2 separate regions of the Homo sapiens genome follow, and region 2 is linked to region 1. The links are contacts of gene promoters, found by promoter capture Hi-C in blood cells and fetal thymus (Javierre and others, 2016). All regions are on one chromosome and are shown on one strand. The core of a region is centred on a gene start or on the middle of the fragment in contact, and the rest is flanking DNA. Distances in the headings are between cores, read along the strand shown.

The links. Contacts are between HindIII fragments. The CHiCAGO score rates a contact against its expected background, and 5 or more counts as called.
Region 2: the fragment with the promoter of PDIA6 here is called in contact with the fragment with the promoter of SMC6 in region 1 in 1 of 17 cell types (neutrophils); the score reaches 5.2 in neutrophils.

What each region holds. Positions count from the first base shown.
Region 1 is chr2:17,751,422-17,755,167 of GRCh38, forward strand. It overlaps SMC6 (structural maintenance of chromosomes 6), which reads right to left and starts at 2,389. Exons shown (of 28, transcript NM_001142286.2): 1 at 2,205-2,389; 2 at 1,557-1,643. It overlaps GEN1 (GEN1 Holliday junction 5' flap endonuclease), which reads left to right and starts at 2,717. Exons shown (of 14, transcript NM_001130009.3): 1 at 2,717-2,924. RefSeq lists silencers at 1,865-2,224, 2,365-2,504. The HindIII fragment of the contact is 9,742 bases long and covers 1-3,746 here.
Region 2 is chr2:10,811,310-10,814,908 of GRCh38, forward strand. PDIA6 (protein disulfide isomerase family A member 6) reads right to left here and starts at 1,476. Exons shown (of 13, transcript NM_005742.4): 1 at 1,369-1,476. The coding sequence starts at 1,387. RefSeq lists an enhancer at 479-538 and a silencer at 1,029-1,778. The HindIII fragment of the contact is 7,767 bases long and covers 1-3,599 here.

The DNA of each region.
Region 1 (3,746 bases), core at 1,139-3,638:
CACTGCACTCCAACCTCGGCGACAAGAGTAAAACTCTGTCTCAAACAAAAAAAAAAAAAAAAGAGGAAAAAAAAGAAAGAAAGAAAACACTGAGTTTCAAGTGCTCCTAAGGTATTTTGAGATAGAGGCCAGTCAGTAGTAAAGGATACTCTGCAATGGAGAAAGATTTGTGGGTGGAGCTAAGGAAGCTACTGGAAGTAGTTTGAATTTGGTGACCAAGAAAAGCATGCTCAGAGAGAAAAGATGTTAACTTGTTTAAATAGTGAATCAAAAATGCTAACATTAACCTAAGCAACTACGCTTGACCCTCAGTCAGCTGGACTTATCGTTGTGTATAAAGAACTATGGCATTTAATTGTGTCTTAAATATAATGCAAGCTATCACGGTAAAATTTTGAGTTACTTACTAATTCCTAAAAGTAAGCCAAGTACAGCTTTAATTATTTTTCCTAACTTTGGTCTAAAAATGACAGTCAAGATTTAGGTAGGTTTTACATAAAATTCTACAGATTCAGTAAAATACACTCAGTAAAATAAACCTTTGGGGAATAAAACTTGTTTTTCACTGTAATACCTTTAACATGACTTGTGTACTTTTTGCCAGGCTCAATACTAACTGGTTTATACGGATTGCAGACAGATGTCGATATATAACTACATAACTTTCTCTTCCTCTCTGTGTCCACATATTTAAGAATCCTGTCAGCTAGGTACAGTCAATCCCTAAGAATTGGTTCCAAAATGACAGCCCCTCTCTCTCACTCAGATACCAAAATCCACAGATGCTCAAGTCCCTTATATGAAATGGTGTCATATTTGCATATAACCTCCCCACATACTTAAAAGTTATCTCTAGATTACTTATATAACCTAACACAATGCAAATGCTATGTGAATAGTTGTTATACTGTACTGTTTAGGGAATAATGACAAGAACAAAAAAAAGTCTGTGCAACCATCCACTTTTTTTCCTCTGAAATATTTTCAGTCCCTTGATTGAGTCCACGGATACAGAGGATGCACTGATAACTGTATTATTTCTTCCAACTTGCATAAGAAGAACTGAAACTTAAAGAGGTGGTACCAACCTGCTCAGAGTCACACAATTCTGGCTTTTTGTGATATAAATACACGCTTTTAGGCAATATACTAGTGGCCTCCAAACGTTTTGTACTTGCACCCATTAAGCAAAAGAAATTTGAAATACATGTTCCAACATAAAATTAATACCCTATGTTTCACGTAGAAATCAAATGAAATAAATCTAAATAGAAGTTCTAATATGTTCCCTCTCTACCCACACACCCATGGAACAAACTGCATGCCACTGTATATACTATTGTACATGTTAAAAGATCACACTGCAACCATATAAAAGTCAGGAGATTTGGGTTTTTCTTTTTTCCTTTGAATATATATTACTGAGAAGTTTGCCTTTAAAACACTGGCTTTTAATCTACTACTCGTGACATATGCAGAGTAATAAGCGCTCACAAAACTTCTGTCTTGAGGGCTCAAACACCAAATGATTGCTCTAAGAATTTTCACAGTATTACCTCAAACCCTATTGGTTCTACAACCTTTCTCTACCCTAGAGTCCTGTTTTCCGCAATTCCCAATTGGGATTCTTCTCCGGTTCATTTCTGTAAGAAATGAGGGCAGAGAAATGCCATCAGTAAACCTTTGAACACATGTTAATTTTTCTAGGTAATACAATTTGCATTTTCGTAAAACTGGGCTTTAATGACAAATCCGATTTCAGTGATCTTTGCATACACCCTTTAAACACACCAGTTGCCGCCTGCGAGATATCATCAGACTCATGCTAAGAGCCACTCCCTACCCCAGCTTTCCCCAGACCTCTCCCCGCTTTACAGTTATTCGCCACAGCCCGGGAGAGTCTGGGGACGGCCGCCTGGGAGGGGACGGCCGCCTGGGAGGGGACGGCCCGGAGCAGACGCCAGGTTTCCCGCGGCTCAGGAGACCGGTGCCGCCTCGGAGAGCGCGCGAAGGTGCCGCCGGCCGCCCGACCCGCCCGAGGAACGGACATCTCCCGCCCGGGCCCGCAAGGACGACCATGAACACCGCCGCAGCTCAGCTGACCCTGCCTCTCCCGGGTGGCTGGGGGTCGCCAGCCAAGGGGGCAGCGGGCGGAGGATGAACCCCGGAGCAAGGGAAAGCGACAGCGCGCGCCTTCACCCTACCGCCAACAAGTCGAAGTCTCCCAAAGGAACCTGATCGGCGGGGCTGCCGTGGTACGACCGGCCGCTAAGGCCACCCTGCGGGCGTCTCGACCTCGGCTGACCGCCGCTGGCCCCCTGGGAACCGCGTGCCGGCCGCAGGAGAAGGTAGATTCCCGGGAGCCCCGGCGCCCACCGCGGTACTAACCGCGCCTGCGCCCCGCCCTCCCTCCCTTCGGGCTCCGCCCGCGCCTGCGCAGTTGCGGGGTTTCGCGCCGCCGGAGTCTGAGAGGCCGGAAGTGCCCCTTAGCGGGTGGGGGAAGCTGGTAGGCACGGGCGGCTCCGCAGTGACCGGACTCGGGGGAGGTGAGTGATTTGCCTAAGTAAAAGGGAAAGATAATTGAGCGCCCCCGGCAGCTGGTCTACGCATGCGTCCGCTAGGCCGGCTGGGAGCCGGCAAGGGAAAGCCGAGCGGGCCCCATTGGGGGAAAGGGGTCAGTCACTTCCCGGAAGAGGCGGGGCCGCGCGGGCCCGGCGCTGGATTCGAAACGCTTCCTGGTGCTCCTGGGCCTGGCGGTTGAGCCCGGGGAGCTAGTCTTTGCTTGGGTAAAGAAAGAGGACTTTCCTTTTTTTTTTTCCTTTTGAGAAAATTCAGAAATTTGGAGGCACAGTAGTTAGGATTCAGGCCAAACTGGTAAATGACGAAGGGGCTTCTTCCAGAGCCAAGGAGGAAGGGTTGTCCGGGTAAGTCCCGCGGGACGTGGAGAGACGGCGCCGCCCGGGTCCTCCCACTGATTCCTTTGACCATCTGGCTTACGGACGAGCTCTTTGTTCGCTGCTCCTCCGAAAACGCCTTCAATGACTCCCTTTGAATAAAGTAGGAAGTCCGAACCGAGCCGCCAGGCCGCGACTTGGCCCCTGTTTTCCACTCGCGAGGGCCCTGCGTCACCCCGCCTCGGGAAAGCTGCGCGTTCTCCGGCCGCTTGCGCTTGGCCGAAGCTGCTGGGTCCCGCTGTGCTTCCCCCGGGCATGCGATGGGGATAATTCCCACGCCTCGCTCAAAGCCATCCCGGGAGAGCCCTCCCTGGTCCCCATAGGCACAGTTGGGTGTTCCCTTTTCCGTGTTAACCTTGTATTTCGGATATAGTTCTGTTATAGTAATTACTTTAAGGTATTGTAGTTATTTACAATCAGTCTTTCCCCCACGGTAACCTAGAGTGTAAACCCCCTAAATAAACGTCAGAAGTAATGAAGTCTTAACTTCCTTGGCTTAGGTTTCAGCGCCCTTCTCAACCCCACACTCCCGCTTCAGTCTTTACACAACCCTTCCCATGAATATGCTGACCTAACAAGTAACCTACTTTTCATACTCCAAAATCTTCTCTTCTGTGTGGGGAAAATAATGCATTGACTGCCACCTCACTCCACCTCCAAATAAATTGATGTTGAAATTCTGGCCTCCGGTAATGGAATTCTTTACATCAAAGTCACTTTTTATTTCTAAAAGTAATCACATATATATTATATTCCTACTGTGGCCCTTGCCATGGATCAACGAAAAATATG
Region 2 (3,599 bases), core at 226-2,725, 6.9 Mb before region 1:
ACTCGAGGCCAGGAGTTTGAGACCAACCTGAGCAATACAATGAGACCCTGACTCTACAAAAAATTTAAAAATTAGCCAGGTGTGGTGGCATGTGCCTGGATCCCTTGAGACCAGGAGTTCCAGGCTGCAGTGAACTATGATGGAAACCCTGCACTCCAGCCTAGGAGACAGAGCAAGACCGTGTCTCAAAAAACAGAAAGACATGTACTAACTCATTAATCCTCAGGACAACCCTAAGGGAGTACTATTATCAGTCCCTAAAATGGTGAACACCGTTGAAAAGGCACTGGCACAGAGTGGTTAAGTAACTTGCTCCAAGTCACAGAGCCAGTAAATAGGGGGAAGGTGGTCTGAGGCCAGAGCCGAGGTTAAGGACTGTCAGAGCCAAGGCTGTGACCAAGGCGAGCCCGGCAAGGACAGGACCCTCGGCCTCGCCCACTAAGAAGCAGACATTTACAGAATTCCTAAGACGCCGCGTTCCATTTCGTTTTTAAGGAGTCCGATCACATGCGAAGCGCCCCTGCGTCTTAAGCCCAGCTTTTGGAAGGCACTGTCCCTTTCTAAGGGAACTATGGGTCCTTATTTCAGGACTGAGATTTAACATTTCAGTTTTTCGTTTCTGAGACAGAGTTTCACTCTTGTTGCCCAGGCTGGAGTGGCGCGATCTCGGCTCACTGCAACCTCCGCCTCCTGGGGGTTCAGGAGATTCTCCTGCCTCAGCCTTCTGAGTAGCTGGGATCACTGGCGCGCGACACCACGCCCGACTAATTTTGTATTTTTAGTAGAGACGGGGTTTCGCCATGTTGGTCAGGCTGGTCTCGAACTCCTGACCTCAGATGATCCACCCGCTTCGGCCTTCCAAAGTGCTGGGATTACAGGTGTGAGCCACCGCGCCCGGCTTAACATTTCAGTTTTTAAAAGTAGGAGCTGCATAAAGCAGGTGGCAGAAACAAGCAGCAGTGCAGGACGCCCGCCAACCTCCGTCCCCACGCACGAGTTCGAGAAGAGCCCGGAACAAGCTCCCCTGCGACTCTCCGGGAATACAGACCCCCTCCCCGGGATCCGGCCGGGGCTGGGCTCCGCGGCTCTCCCGCCCGGCCCTGGACCCCGCGCCCGGCTCCAGCGCACGAGGCTCCCGCCCCCCGCGGCTGCGGAAGCCCCTCCCCACGGGCGCCCGAGTCTCCCGCGCACCCGCACCTCCGCCGGGGCAACCTAGCAGCTCCTCCGGACGCCGAGGCCCGCGCCTCCCGCCCGCCAGGCCCACTTCCGGCCGCCTGCGGCCGCGGCCCGCCGGGGAACGGCCTAGAGATTCGAAACCTTTCAGGCCGACCCCAGCTCGCCCGCCTCCCTCCGCTGGCCCGCACCTACCGAGCACCAGGAGAGCCATGCCGAGCGCCGGGCTACGTGCAGTCCCCACCGCCGCCGCCGCTTCAGCCCTGCAGCGTGCCGCACGCCGCGCCCCCGCGCCCACGTCCCGCCCCAGGCCAGTCCGGTGGTCCGAGGGGCGGCCGCGCGGGGGCGGGCCGGAAGGCGCTCGCCAAGCCGTGGCTGCGGCTCATTGGTCCGGGCGGACATCGCTCACTCACATATCCAATGGGAGGCGGCCGGGTAGAGGTTACCGGTTTGGTTTTTTTTCACGGGGGCGGTGGCGAGCAGCGGAAGGCGGGGCCTGCTGGGGGCGGGGCTGGCAGTCTCGGCTCGCACCGCCTCAGCTCCTCCGGGCCCTCTCGGGGTGCTGCTCGGAGGGGAGTCCAGTACTGGGCGTTTTTACCTTAGTTCCTTATTCTGCACCCCCCCACCCCGCCTCCTCCTTGCCTGTGTGCGCCCCCACCCTCTTTATCCCGGGGGAGCGTGACTCGGCCTCAGGGCACCCACGGTCCTGGGAGCTGACAGGGAATTCCTCTTGTGCCCGACGAATATTCCGTGGACACACATTTGCTCCGCACGCGCTGTCTGCAATGTAATTCGACAAGTTTCTATTTTGTTGAATTACTTTTGAAAGTTCTTCCGTCCAGGGCGCATGGCTCTGCAGAGCCTTCTCCTCCTTCTCTGGAGAACCCCAGGGACTTAAGCGGTAGCCTCCTCGCTGACAGGGTCTCCACTTTGTCCTGGGGGGCGAGGGGGCTGGCAATGCGCTCACGTGGGTGTGTGCTTTGTAAAATATGCAAAAGTGAAAAAAAATATGTTTGTGGGGCAGGCTGGCGAGCAGTGGCATGATACAGTTCACTGCAGCCTTGAACTCCTGGGCTGCAGTGAGCCTCCTGCCTCGGCCTCCCAAAGTGCTGGGATCACAGGCATGGGCCACCACGCCCGGCAAAAGTAAAAATTTTTTTGCTTTTTTTTGAGATGGAGTTTTGCCCTTGTTGCCCAGGCTGGAGTGCAAAGGCGGGGTCTTGGCTCACTGCAACCTCTGCCTCCCGGGTTCAAGCGATTCTCTTGCCTCAGCTTCCCGAGAAGCTGGGATGACAGGTGCATGTCACCACGCCCGGCTAATTTTTGTATTTTTAGCAGAGACAGGGTTTCTCTTGCCTCAGCTTCCCGAGAAGCTGGGATGACAGGTGCATGTCACCACGCCCGGCTAATTTTTGTATTTTTAGCAGAGACAGGGTTTCTCCATATTGGCCAGGCTGGTCTCGAACTCCCGACCTCAGGTGATCCGCCTGCTTCGGCCTCCCAAAATGCTAGGATTACAGTTGTGAGCCACCACGCCCGACCTAAAAGTAAAATCTTTCAAGCACAAGTTAAGACCACTGTATCTTTCCGCCTTGATTCTCCCTCCTATGTTTGGAGTGGACTCGGACATTTTGTTTTTGTATTAGTAATTTCTCCATATTGTAGTGTGTAAGGCATAAGTATTCTTAGGCAGGGGTCCAGGAGTGGTGGGGGCCGGCTGGTGGGCTTCCTGGAGGAAGTGGCACTAGAGCTGCGTTTGGAAGATTTTTCAGGCAAACTGAACTCAGAGGCACAGCAGCCCTCTGAAGTCACGGGGGCCTCTCCTGGAAGCCACATGCCAGCATTGATTTTCCCCAGGGAGGCTGCTTGTCCCGGGACAGAAATCCTCAGCTTGGTACCCCGGGCAGCTCCTCCTGAATGTGAAGGTGCGTGGGAAGCCCAACCGGTGATCGCAGGGCTGTTTGGGATTCACAGCAAAGGGCAGTGGACTGCGAGCCTGTTCCTCCAGGCCTGTCTGCTTTCCCTGAAGGGCGCCTGAGGGGCAATGAATGCTGTTTGTTTTTCTGACCCCTTTCCTGCATTTGACACATTTCCCCCCTTAAATTTGCTGCTGTTGCTGACTGGATTACAGCGAAGTCCTTCCTTTTCCTCTCAGCCTGGAAAGTCATGCTTTTCCTCCCTGGATGGAGGAATTTAATTCTCTTACCAGAAGAGGGCCCCTTCATTTGTCTTTACATTAAGACAGTTAACTTTGTCCCCATGGGCCACAGACATCACAGCTTCCACAACGCACTCACGATCGAGTTTGTTTTCTCAGGGTTGTGAGTTGATCGCAGCCTCTCCAGGCCTGCTGTGTTTGGGTAGCAATCCTGCTTGGAACAGAACCCTCGAACTGCGGTGGCCCACACTGCCAGTGCCCTTTGTGT